Linked DNA regions of Homo sapiens: region 2 is linked to region 1. The links are contacts of gene promoters, found by promoter capture Hi-C in blood cells and fetal thymus (Javierre and others, 2016). All regions are on one chromosome and are shown on one strand. The core of a region is centred on a gene start or on the middle of the fragment in contact, and the rest is flanking DNA. Distances in the headings are between cores, read along the strand shown.

Region 1 (6,850 bases), core at 2,107-4,606:
CCACCATACCCAGCTAATTTTTGTATTTTTAGGAGAGGCGGGGTTTCACCATGTTGCCCAGGCTGGTCTTAAACTCCTAGAATCAAGTGATCCACCCACCTCAGCCTCCTGAAGTACTGGGATTACAGGCATGGGCCACAGTCCCCAGCCTGGGGTCCCTTTTATAAGGGCACTAATACTATTCATGAGGGTTCAACTCTTATGACCTAATCACCTCCCAAAGGCCCCACCTCCTAATACCATCATCTTAAAGGTTAGGATTTCCGTATATTAATTTGAGGGAACATAAACATTCAGCACACAAACATATGGCAAAATAAAATGGAAAAACAGAGGACATGGTAGAAACTAAGGCCTTCCTACTTCACACCTGAATTCCTCTCCCCAGAGGTAACCACCATCAACAGCTTCTTGGGTCACCCTTTGGAAATTTTCGATGCAAATAAAGGCAGAGAAGCCATATAGAACAGTGGTTAAGAACATGGACTGCCTGATCCAAATTCTGGCCCTGCTGTGGACAAGCTACGTGAAGCTTAGGCCAACAGTTTGTTCTCCCTGAGCCTCAGTTTCCTCATCTGTAAAATGGGGTTAATAAAACCAAGTACCTACTTTATAGGGTAGTTGTCAGGATTAAATGAGTCAGTCTAGGCAGTGTTTATTTGTTTATTTATTTATTTATTTTTTGAGACAGAGTTTTGCTCTGTTGCCCAGGCTGGAGTGCAGTGGCACAGTCTCAGCTCACTGCAACCTCTGCCTCCTGGGTTCAAGCGATCCTCCTGCCTCAGCCTCCCGAGTAGCTGGGATTTACAGGCAACTACCACCATGCCCAGCTAGTTTTTTGTATTTTTAGTAGAGATGGGGTTTCACCATATTGGCCAGGCTGGTCTCGAACTCCTGACCTCAAGTGATCCGCCCACCTCGGCCTCCCAAAGTGCTGGGATTGCAGACGTGAGCCACCGCGCCCAGCCTAGGCAGTGTTTAGAATGAACATTCCCTGGCCCATAGTTGTCCGATAAATACACACATACAGTGGACCCCTTCTGGTAAACACTGAGGTGGCCTTTTGCTATAACCAACGATGCTGCAAGCAAGACACATCCTCATTCACCTGTCATTTGGCACAAATGCGACAATCTCTGTGGGAGAAATTGCTGGTGGAGAAATTGCTGGGTCAAACAGTAGAGCCCTTGTAATTTCAATTAATTTTTGGATGAGCGAATTCTCACAGCAGGCGGGGACAGGGAAAGAGGTTCACAGGGCAGCGAGGACAAAGGAGGAGCAAGATGCAATGTTTTGACTGAAGTCCAGGGAGGGCTGCATCTGTCCCAGCAACCTGGAGGATGTGGCGGCTCCCCAAGCCCCTGGCTAAGCAGATGGAGGGTTTAATTTCATCTAGATTGTCCCCATAAGGGTTTTACAGAAAATTGGTTAAGATTCGAGGAGTAGGAGCCTCTTACGAGCAGTGGCTGCTTAATAAAATGCTGGAGCAGATACAGTTTCCCTTTGCCACCATCCACAACAGCAGCATCTGGGCTCTGACAGAAACCCCTCGGATGCCAAAGTCACCTCAGAATGGTACCCCAGTTGCGCTCTCCTTCCTCAGCATCTTTCTAGGTCCCCGAATACAGAGTAGAGAGCAAGGGGTTAAGAGCACAGGTTTTAGGGTAAGACAGATGTCCACCCAAATTTACTGTGTCAACTTGGGCAAGCCATTTTCCTCCCTGTGTCTCAGAGGATAATGGGTCCTAACTTCATGAGGCTGATGTGAGGACTCAATCAATCAAACCCAGAAAAGACAGTGGCCAGCACACTGGGAGAGCCCAATTAATGATCACCCAGGAGACACGGATGAAGAATAAAGACAGTGATCCCGGCTGGACACGGTGGCTCACACCTGTAATCCCAGCACTTTGGGAGGCCCAGACAGGCAGATCACATGAGGCCAGGAGTTCGAGACCAGCCCGGCCAACATGGCAAAACCCCATCTCTGCTAAAAATACAAAAAATAGCCAGGTATAGTGGTGGGCACCTGTAGTCCCAGCTACTCAGGAGGCTGAGGCAGGAGAATCGCTTGAACCTAGGAGGCAGAGGTTGCGGTGAGCCAAGATGGAGCTACTGCCCTCAAGCCTGTGGGACAGAGTGAGATCCTGTCTCAGAAAAAAAAAAAAAAAAGGCCGGTCGCGGTGGCTCACGCCTGTAATCCTAGCACTTTGGGAGGCCAAGGTGGGTGGATCACGAGGTCAGGAGATGGAGAGCATCCTGGCTAACACGGTAAAACCCTGTCTCTACTAAAAATATAAAAAATTAGCCAGGCGAGGTGGCACGTGCCCGTAGTCCCAGCTACTGGGGAGGCTGAGCCAGAAGAATCGCTTGAACCCGGGAGGCAGAGGTTGCAGTGAGCTGAGATCGCGCCACTGCACTCCAGCCTAGGCGGCAGAGGGAGACTCCATCTCAAAAAAAAAAAAAAAAAAAAAAAAAGGAATCTGAGAAGTCCCAGGACGACTGTAATAATGCTAACAGTAATGACAACAGTGACCACCCCATTGATCCAGGGGATACCTGACTCGGCTAAGGGCACAGGCTGGGGTCAGACAGACGTGGATTGGGCTCTATTGTGCACCTGGGTGAGTTGTGATGTCGCACCTGGGTGAGCTCACCTCTCAGAGCCTCATCGGCTTCCTCACCTGGGGAGGATAATGGCTCTGCGGCCCGGCTGGGGAGAGAACCGAGGAGGGGTTGGGGTGTGAGCCCCCGCCGCTGCCCCTTCGCGGCCGGCATTCCGGCGGCGGGCACGGCCGGGGCACACCCCGTCGCCGTCCAGCGGATCTCCGGGCCCCGGGGAAGACGGCCGCTCCTCCTCCATGCCTCCGCGGGCGGATTCCCCCGCAGCCTCCCGCGCCGCGCAGCGGGGACCCGGGTGATTGCAAACAGCCGCCGGCCTCATTAGGAGACTTATAATTAGCGGCTGGCGCAGCCCGAGCCGGCGCGCGCTAATTACCGCGGGGAGCCCGCCCGCCCGGCCACCGCCGGCGTCTGCACCCTCCTGGGCCAGAAGGGGCCGGGCCTGGTCCAAGACTGGGAGGCCGCGGGCCGTGCCAATGTGCTTCCTCCCGGGGCTGTGCCTGTGGGGGAAAAGTAAATCATTTGTTCAGAACAGCGTTTACTTGCCGAGGGCGGTGGCACACGCCTGTAATCCCAACACTTTGGGAGGCCGAGGCGGGCGGATCACTTGAAGTCAGGAGTTTGAGACCAGCCTGTCCAACATGGTGAAATCTCTACTAAAAATACAAAATTAGCCGGGCGTCGTGGCAGGCGCCTTAATCCCAGCTACTCTGGAGGCTGAGGCAGGAGAATTGCTTGAACCCGGGAGGCAGAGGCTGCAGTGAGCCGACATGGCGTCACTGCACTCCAGCCTGGGCGACAGAGCAAAAAACTGTCTCAAAAAATTCCTGTTGTTTGGCTATATTTTCTTTTTTCTTTTCTTGTTTTTAAGACAGTCTTAAAAATCAGTCTCAAAAAACAAACAAAACAAAAAAAACAAAAACAAAAAAAGGGCTTACTATGCACTCGCTGTGCCAGGCATTTTGTCCACATGACCCCGCTTAAACTTCATATCCACCCACGAGGGAGGAACCATTGTTATCCCATTGCACAGATGAGGAAACTAAGATCTGAGACATGAATTAACCCTCCTGACAGCACCTGGCCGGGCCAGTAAATGACGGAGTAGCGAATCGAACCTCCATCTGTCGTCTCTCCATCTTATTACACTAAATGGACGAGTGAAATCCTGCACGGGAGAGCACCAACCGTGTTGACCAGAACAAGGAGTCAGCTGGCTTTGGGTTCGAATTCTGATCCTGCTCCTAACTGGATACGAGGCTTTGGTCTGAGCCCCAACTGCATCTATAAAATGGGCGAAGCATTGCTGTTGAAATGAAGGCTGGGAGGAGTGAAATTTCTATGAGGGGTGGAGCGCTCAGGAGTTGGGGGTGTCTTGCTCTCTCCGCGCACTGCGGACCTCTGGCGCCCCCTGTTGGCCAAAGGAGGATGTCGCAGACACTTTCTGGTGAAAAGTTGTTCTTGGGTGGGGAGTGCCGTCACTGTCACTGGTCCCTTGGCAGGGCCACGGCGTTCCCTCTTCCTATTCTTTTCTTCCCTACCTTCCCCCACATCCCTCCTTTAAGGTGGCCAAGAAGAGTGGGAGATGGGAAAATTCAGAACTCATTCCAGATCTTGCAAAAATAGGTTGTGAAAGCTGCCCCCATTACGGACCTCACAGGACCAGCCAAGGCCAAGACACTTCTACAAATAATCAGGGATGGGCATAAAGACTAAGCTACAAAGCCATGCATCAAAGTATTGGGTATAACAAGAAAATCTAGAAATAATGTAAACGTCTACCAAAGGGATACTGACCAACTTCACAATGGTACGTCCAAACAATGCAATACTGCACAGCTAAAAAACAGTATTGTCGCTGAAGAGCTGACATGAAAATATAGCCAAATGGCCAGGCGTGGTAGCTCACGCCTGTAATCCCAGCACTTTGGGAGGCCGAGGTGGGTGGATCACCTGAGGTCAGGAGTTCAAGACCAGCCTGGCCAACATGGGGAAACCCTGTCCCTACTAAAAATACAAAAATTAGCCAGTTGTGGTGGCACACACCTGTAGTCCCAGCTACTTGGGAGGCTGAGGCAGGAGAATCGCCTGAATCCAGGAGGCAGAGGTTGCAGTGAGCTGAGATCGTGCTCCAGCTTGGGCAACAGAGTGAGACTCCGTCTCAAAAAACTAAATAAATAAATACAAAAATTAGCTGGTCGTGGTGGCAGGTGCCTGTAATCCCAGCTACTCGGGAGGCTGAGGCAGGAGAATCGCTTGAACTCAGGAGGCAGAGGTTGCAGCCAGCCTCCTGGCTGCATTTATATAAAGTTTAAGAACAGGCAAAATTAATCTAGCAGGGTAGAAGTGGTAATAGTGGCTGATAGCAGTAAGCAATTTGACTGGAAGAGGGCTCAGGGAACCTTCTGGGATACTGGAAATGCTCTTTATTTTAATCTTGGAGGTGGTTATAGAAGTCTATCCATATGTAAAAATTCATTGAGATGAATACACTTAAGAATATGTACTTTATGTAATACCCCATAAGACATTTTTTTTAAAATACTTAAAAATAAAAGAAAAAACATAATTTAACAGAGGGCATAGTTCTCAAGCTGTTTTCTCTGTCTCAGGACCCCTTTACACACGTTACTGAGGGTGCCCAAGAGCTTTTAGTTTTGTGGGTTATATTTACTATGGACATTAAAGTTGAGAAACGTTTAAAAAACAATACACAATTCCTAGAGCAGTGACGTCATCACGTCAAGCAGCCTCTGGAAAACTTGACTGTTCACTCAGAGAGAATGAAAAAGACAAGTAACATCTTAGCATTATTATGAAAGTAATTTTGACTTCGGGGACTCCCAAATCGAGTGAATTTAGGAAATCTCAGTGGTCCCCAGACGGCACTTTGAGAACCACTGGCGCAGGGAGAAAATGACAGAAGAAAACACACTACACGACAACAGTTATTCTCTCTCAGTGCTGGGATTATAATTTATTTGCTTCTTTGTGCTTTTCTGTCAAAAAAAAAAGGTAAACGGAAATGGAAAATACAATGACCACGTATTGTTTCTGCGAGCAAAAAACGAGACGGCACACTCGCCTCCCTAAGATTGCTGAAAGGCCCAAACAGCAATAGCATATTTAGCTGTATGGAAGAATTAAACTGAGCTCAAACCTGAAAATAAAAGTCCGATTTCCCGTTTGTCAATGCCTGGGCTGTGAGGTGCAGGGTCTTGCCCTCAAAAGCTCCACCGTTCACCTTGGGGAGAGAATATACTCGCATACATAACTGTGGTGCAAGGTTCCCAGGGCCCCAAGGGTAGCGGCTACATCCTACACACTATTGTAAACTTCAGTGTGCAACAGAACCATCCATTACAGCTGCAAGGCGCTCCATCCCGGGGTTCAGCCCTCAAACTAGTCAGTGACCCTCCGCAGGACGCATGCGCGCTTACAAACGCAGTTGGGCGGGGCTTGAGAGAGCTGACAGACTTCGGCCTCTCAACTTTCTAGCTCCGCCCTAATATCCTGTCTCCTTCTCTGAATGGCTGAAAGGCTGCGGAAGCAAGCTTCCCATTGGCAGCGGACAGAATTCACATCCGGTTTGCACGCCGGACCGGAGAGCGCGGAGGCAGCCATGGTGCGGTTCAAGCACAGGTAAGCATTCCCTTCCAGACCCTCCCAGTGCCTTGCTGGGTCCTCGCGGCCCCGCTAGTGTCCACCTTCCTCTCGCCTGCCGCAGGTACCTGCTCTGCGAACTGGTGTCTGACGACCCCCGCTGCCGCCTAAGCCTCGATGACCGAGTTCTGAGCAGCCTCGTACGGGACACGATCGCCAGGGTGCACGGAACTTTCGGCGCAGCCGCCTGCTCCATCGGCTTCGCGGGTGCAAGGGCGCTGGGGGAAGAGGGGAACCCGGGAGGATGGCGGGATGTGGAGGGGGCAGGCGCCGGAGGAAGAAAGAAGGGGCACGAGTGGCCAAGCCCGTGCACCGTTTTTTGTAAGGTATCTCTTTAAGCGCCTGGGACCCCAAGCGAGAGTCCGAAATTAGCAGAGCGCTAAAAGGAGGGGCCCGAAGGCAGTGGGGCTTTGAGCTAGAAGCCTCTTTTTACCTGCTTGACAGGTAATTTCTGTAATTGGTTGTGATTGAATTTGATAGGGTAGAGAATTAAATGAGGGAAGCTGTGTATACTTCCTAGTAAGAGCTATTATATGACCGATTACATTAACATCATATGGAAAAA
Region 2 (6,850 bases), core at 2,056-4,555, 550 kb before region 1:
AAGTGATATGTCTTATTTTAGATTTCAGCACATATATATAAATATATAAAATACATATAAATATATATAAATATATAAAAAATATAAATATATAAAAATATATAAGAGATGGCAAAACCCCATCTCTACTAAAAATACTATATATATATATATATATTTTTTTTTTTTTTTTTTTTTGAGACAGAGTCTTGCTCTGTGGCTCAGGCTGGAGTGCAGTGGTGCAATCTTGGCTCACTGCAACCTCCACCTCCTGGGTTCAAGTGATTCTCCTGTCTCAGCCTCCCGAGTAGCTGGGATTACAGGCACCCACCACCATGCCCGGCTAATTTTTGTATTTTTAGCACAGATGGAGTTTCCACCACGTTGGCCAGGCTGGTCTCAAACTCTTGACCTCAAGTGACCTGCCCGCCTTGGCCTCCCAAAGTGCTGGAATTACAGGCATGGGCCACCATGCCGGACCCAGCATATATGTTTATCATTCAATATTTGTTGAACAGTAAACATATGAATCGAATAATAATAATCCTAATAATAGCATTATTAATAATAAGAACTAACACTTAATCAGGGATTACTATATGCCATATATTTCTCAAACAGCTTTGCATTTATTAGTTCATTTAATATTCCTATCAACAATTCTCCCCATTTTACAGATGATGAAACCAAGGCTCAAAGAGGTGAAGGATTTTTGAATCCACGTTTCCAGATTTCAAATCCTGAACTTGGACGTGGTTACTTTGAGGGTCAGAGCAGAGGATATAGATAAAAATACATACATGTATTTTATATACATATATACTATTATATAATCAAAAAAATTATTACTATTATTATTATTTTGAGATGGAGTCTTGCTCTGTCACCCAGGCTGGAGTGCAGTGGCTTGATCTTGGCTCACTGCAACCTCCGCCTCCGGGTTCAAGCGATTCTCCTGCCTCAGCCTCCCTAGTAGCTGGGATTACAGGTGTGCACCACCACTCCCCACTAATTTTTGTATTTTTAGTAGAGATGGGGTTTCACCATATTGGCCAGGCTGGTCTCAAACTCCTGACTTCGTGATCCACCCGCCTTGGCCTCCCAAAGTGTTGGGATTACAGGTGTGAGCCACCACTCCCAGACTTAAAAAGATTATTTTTAAAAATAGATACTAGTTATGGAGCTCTTATCCTATGTCAGTCATCATGATAAGGGCTGTTCATGCCTTTTTTTTTTGGTTAATTGCCACAACCCTATGAACAGATGCAGAAACTGAGGCTCAGAGAAGTTAATGACTTGGCCCAGAAGACATAGCCAGTACTATGAAATAAGTTACCCTAACTCTTAGTAAACTACACTGCCACTCTATAGATACAAATTGCCTTCATCATCATTATCAATCAGCACAGAGAATAAGAGGCACTCACCATCAGGGAAATTCAAATCACAACCACAATGAACTACCACTTCACACCCACTAGCATGGCTATAATAAAAAAGACAGACAATCAGCCGGGCGTGGCGGCTCATGCCTGTAATCCCAGCACTTTGGGAGGCCAAGGTGGGCGGATCACTTGAGGTCAGGAGTTTGAGACCAGCCTGGCCTACATGGCGAAACCTCATCTCTACTAAAAATACAAAAATTAGTGAGGAGTGGTGACGCACACCTGTAATCCCAGCTACTCATGAGGCTGAGGCAGGAGAATCGCTTGAACCGGGGAGGTGGAGGTTGCAGTGAGCCAAGATTGCGCCACTGCACTCCAGCCTGGGCAACAGAGCAAGACTTCATCTCAAAGACAAAAACAAAATGACAACAACAAAACCCAAAAAGACAGACGATAACAAGCGTTGGTGAGGATGTGGAGAAATTGGATCCCTCATACTCTGCTGATAGGAATGTAAAAAACTGCAGCTGCTGTGAAATTCAGCTCCACATTCCCCCCAAAGGTGAAACATAGTTAACATATGACCTAGCAATTTTTACTCTTAGGTACATATTCGAGAGAAAGGAGAATATATATCCACATAAAACCTTGTACACAAATGTTCATGTGGCATTATTCATGATAGCCAAAAAAGAGAAACAACCCCAATGTCCATCAATGGATGAATGGATAGAAAAAAGTGGTCTATCCATGCAATGGAGTACTACTCAGCCGTAAAAAGGAATGAAGTATCAGCCGGGTGCAATGGCTCACGCCTGTAATCCTGACACTTTGGGAGGCCGAGGCAGGCAGATCACTTGAGTCCAGGAGTTTGAGACCAGCCTGGACAAAATAGTGAGACCCCGTCTCTTTAAAAAAAAAAATTGAATGAAGTATCAACACATGCTACAACATGGATGAGCATTGAAAACACGCTAAGTGCCACAAAGGACCACATATTATGTGATTCCATTTATATGAAATGTCCAGAATCGGCAAATCCATAGAGGCAGAAAGGAAATTGATGGGTGGGAAGGAGGAGGAACAGTGTTGGAAATGATGGTGAAGGAGTGTGGGATTCCTTTTGAGTCGATTAAAATATTCTAAAATTGATTGTGGGGATGGTTGCACAACTCTGGGAATAATCTGAAAATCATTAAATGGTACCCTTTAAATGGGTCAATTGTATGGTGTATAAATTATATCTCAGTAAGTTTCTTTTAGAAGAAACAAAAACCAAAAAGCAGGGCCTTCCTGACGTTGGTGAGGACCTAAAGTTATAACACATTTTCAAGCCTGGTCCTATTCCTCCCAAGCATGGTGACTCAGATGCCAGCATGATCACCAGGCGTGCCCTGAGATCCTCGCCTCCTCCCTGGGGATCCAGGGTGTTGCCCTGCGCTTTCCTACCTTCCCCAGGCACGCCCTGCCCTGCGCGCCCTGGCGGGCCTGAAGTAGAGCAGAAAGGAATCCCGCTTGTCCTGTGGCTTCTCTCTGCTGCAGCCTGGCACCGTTTCCTCTTGCCTGCTGCTGCTTCCTCCCTCCCGCCCAGCTGGCTGTGAGAGCACGTCTCAGATTCGAAAACCATGTGAGATTCAGAATGTGCACCTGAAGCTGCCCGCTGGGGCTTTCTGTGCTGTCGGCCACTGCAGAGATCTGGGTCCTCCCCAGATCCCACTTACCAAACGTAGGAAAAGATGATCACGTGGAAGAACCACTTAATGGTGCCATAATTCATGCTCTGGATCCGAGTGACTTTGTTCGTCTCATACTGGAAAACATCACTGCAGCTGCAGCAGGCCGGCATGGTGACAGCCTCCCTCCCTGCGCGGAGCTGGACCAGAGCTCTACTCTTCCTGACAGGGCCACAGCAAGCCCCCTCCCAGTAACTGCAAAATGAAACGTACTGGTTTTTAGCAGGAGTCTTTAACTTCAAGCTCCTCCAATGACTGCAGAGTTGGGGCGGGCCCTGGCAGTGGCCCCACATGTGGCTGTGATAAACAAGAAGCGCCAAGTCCTACGGGCCTGGCTGGCAGATGACCTCACCCCAGCTGGCCTCCCCCAGATGCCTACACAAAGATGGTGTTCAGAGGATGGGCATTTTTAGAATTCTCCCTTTTCCCCCCTTTCCTTTCACTTTTTTGGTCTCATGTCTCTTGGGAGAAAGGGGCAGCCTTGCAAATGTCACAAGACTGGGAGCTTCCATTATGCCTCAGAAAAGGACTGAGATCTTTCCATTGCCTGAAGCCCCACTCAGAGATTGATTCATTCATTTCTACAACCCTTTATTCAGCCCCTGATGTATAGGAGCTCTGGGTAAATGAAGATCTCCCCCTCTTCTTCCACCGCCCCTTATAATACTCTGGTCTGCAGTTGGTGGGGGAAATCAGATTTGCAGGGGTAGGGGTGGTGGGGGTGGAGGGGCTTTATTTTTCTGCCAGATCTTTCATGCTTGACCCTCTGAGTTACTCTCCACCCTCCTCTGCACCCCGGCAGGTCGATCTATGACCTAGACCAATCAGCCAAAGATCACCAGGGACACAGTGGCAGTCCAACAAAGTTAGGTTTGTTGACCTATTCAGTGAGGGACACCACCCACCAGAAGAGCTACGCACATCACCAAACAAAGGAAAACAGCAATTTATTATAGGATTCCGAGGAAAGTGGAGTTGAGATAAAATCTAAATGAAGTCATGTTTTGATGGACTCAAAGCAAAACAGGTTTGTACAAAGCAGTCAACTTCAGTCTGGATTGCAAAGAGGACCCAGGGCCCTGTTTCCTAGGAAGCAACATAGCTAAGATACATGTCAAATGTGTCCAGAAAATCTTTATCTGAAGCTCTGCTCCTGAGTTGTAAATTGAGGCTGCTTCTCTGTGTCAAGATGACTTAAATCTTCCAGGCAAAATTGGAATATTTCAGTCTTAGTCATGTAATTTCAAACAGCAAAGTTTCTGAAGGTCTCTGATTTTAAAGGACAATGTTTCAGCAGTCACTCAAAGATGCAGGGTTGTATTATCACTTTACAGCTACAGAGAATTATTGTTCCCTGTTATCTTTACAGCTGGCTTGATCCCTTTCTGTTATTCCAGCCTGCTAAGTGGCCGGGTAGATTTTCAGTTTTTCAGTCTAAACTAATTGTACTTTCTCACACATACAAACTGCATCAGGGTTCCCCTCACCTTCTGGCTTCCAGTTCAGGAGACTGGAGAGCAGTGAGGATGGACGTGACTCCCTGGCCCTGCCCTTCTCAGTTGCATATAGGCAGGGCTTCTGGGCACCACTCCCTCCTTTAGTCCTGGGAGTGGTAAGGGCTCCCCACTCTTACCAGCCCCAGGAAGCTCACTATCTCCTATTGCTTTTTCTTAACTCTGTCCACACCTTTGTAAATGGTTCCATCATTAGTTACCCCACTTGAGTATGCCATTGCTTTCCTGCCGGGAATCTGAGTGATACGGTCATCTTCATCTGTAAAAAGAGGAGATTCACAGGTAAAGCCTGATGCTTAGAACATAGGCTCTAGGGGACTAATGGCCTGGCTTCCGATCCTGGCTTCACATCTTACCAGCTCTGTGACCCTGGACAGCTCTGTTTATGCTATTCATTCACTCATTCCCAAGAGCACCAGGAATAGTAGATATGGCAGTGAACAGGCAGACAAGTCAAATGTCCATCAGCTGATGGATGGATACACAAAAGCACGAAAGCCCATACAAGGGAATATTATTCAGCCATAAAAAGGAATGAAACACTGACCCATGCTCCAACATGGATGAACCTTGAAAACACTACGCTTAAGTGAAAGAGGCCAGACACAAAAGGATACATCTTTTACGACTCCATTTATAGGAAATGTCCAGAATAGGCAAATCACTTCAGTGTTGCTCTTGCTACCACTCAAAGACATCTATTTTCTTGTCTTTCTTTCTTTCTCTTTTCTTTCTTTCTTTTTTTTTTTTTTTTTTTTTTTTTGTTTTTTTGAGATGGAGTCTCCCCCTGTTGCCCAGGCTGTAGTGCAGTGGCAAGACTTTGGGTCACTGCAACCCCTGCCTCCTGGGTTCAAGCGATTCTTGTGCCTCAGCCTCATGAGTATCTGCAATTACAGCCATGCGCACGCTCAGCTGATTTTTGTGTTTTTAGTAGAGATGGGGTTTCACCATGTTGGCTAGGTTGGTCTCGAACTCCTGGTCACAAGCGATCTGCCCGCCTTAGCCTACCAAAGTGTTGGGATTACAGGCGTGAGCCACTACACCCGGCCTGTTTGTTGTCTTTCTGCTGCACTCTTGCACTGGTCCCTCATGCTCTCCCCTCTCCACTCCTTCAGCCCTTGTCCGCTATTTCATCACTGCTACCTCCTCCACTCCATGGATTCTGTTCTCAAAGAGGTTACCAAAGACTTCTCAGTTGCCAGACTGGGTGGATATATTTTATTCCTTATGTTACTTGATCTCTTGGATGCATTCAACATCACTGGCTACTTTCTGCATCTTGGACCAGTATTTTCCCTTGGTTTCCATGACTTTCCTGGGTCCCATGTTCTCCTGGTTTCTCATTTGTACTTCTATGACTCTTTATCTTATCTTTCTTTTTAAAAAATTAATTTAATTAATTTATTTTAGAGACTGGGTCTTGCTCTGTCGTCCAGGCTGGAGTGCAGTGGCGCAATCATGGCTCACTGCAGCTTCAAACTTCTGGGCTCCAGTGATCCCCCTACCACAGCCTCCTGAGTAGCTGGGACCACAGGCACATGCCACCAAGCCTCGTTAATTTTTTTTTTAATTTTGTAGAGATAGGGTCTTGCTATGCTGCCCAGGCTGGTCTCGAACTCCTGGCTTCAAGTGATCCTCCTGACTCAGCCTTCCAAAGTGCTGGGGTTACAGGCATAAGCCACTGCATCCAATCTTTGTCTTATCTTTCTCTGGCTCTCTTCTCCCTGTAAATATCAGTTCCAGCAAATTGTCTCTCAGCACTTCTTATGATTCTATCAGGATAGGACAGGTTATGCTGCAATAACAAAGCACTCTCAGTGTCTCATGGCTTATAGCAGTGATGAATTAATTCTCACTCACACTATATGTCCATCATGGGTCTCCCAGATGGCTCAGCTCTCTGTAATCACTCAGAGATCGAGGCTAACGGAACAGCCATTGTCTTGAACTCTTTAATGAGAACTCTGGAGAGTCTCACAGCAGCAATGAAATGTTCTGACCTCGTGATGGAAGGAATATAAAGTTACCAAAAAAAAAAAAATTGGGGATTGAACGGTGGATTTCTTAGTCTTGTGAGTGTGTGGGTGTGTTTACAATTTACAGAAAATCAAGTGACATTCTTCAGCAGAAAAGGGAGTTTTTTTTTTTGAGGAAACACTTATCTCACAGACTGCAAGTGCAGGAAATGTGCCCAACCTCATGAGAACCTATTAATAGAATCAGAAACCAAACTGTCCTG

What was found. The method cuts DNA at HindIII sites, captures the fragments that hold promoters and counts their contacts. A CHiCAGO score of 5 or more calls a contact.
Region 2: a contact is called between the fragment with the promoter of P2RX7 here and a fragment that was not itself captured in region 1, in 4 of 17 cell types (total B cells, naive B cells, total CD8 T cells and 1 more). The highest score is 8.8, in total B cells.

Annotation. Positions count from the first base shown.
Region 1 is chr12:120,580,757-120,587,606 of GRCh38, reverse strand. It overlaps POP5 (POP5 ribonuclease P/MRP subunit), which reads left to right and starts at 6,205. Exons shown (of 5, transcript NM_015918.4): 1 at 6,205-6,264; 2 at 6,350-6,492. The coding sequence starts at 6,245. RefSeq lists silencers at 2,673-2,742, 2,773-3,142. The HindIII fragment of the contact is 5,644 bases long and covers 535-6,178 here.
Region 2 is chr12:121,129,331-121,136,180 of GRCh38, reverse strand. It overlaps P2RX7 (purinergic receptor P2X 7), which reads right to left and starts at 3,305. Exons shown (of 13, transcript NM_002562.6): 1 at 3,086-3,305. The coding sequence starts at 3,210. The region is part of intron 2 of LOC105370032 (a long non-coding RNA gene); the gene reads left to right. The HindIII fragment of the contact is 14,919 bases long and covers 1-6,850 here.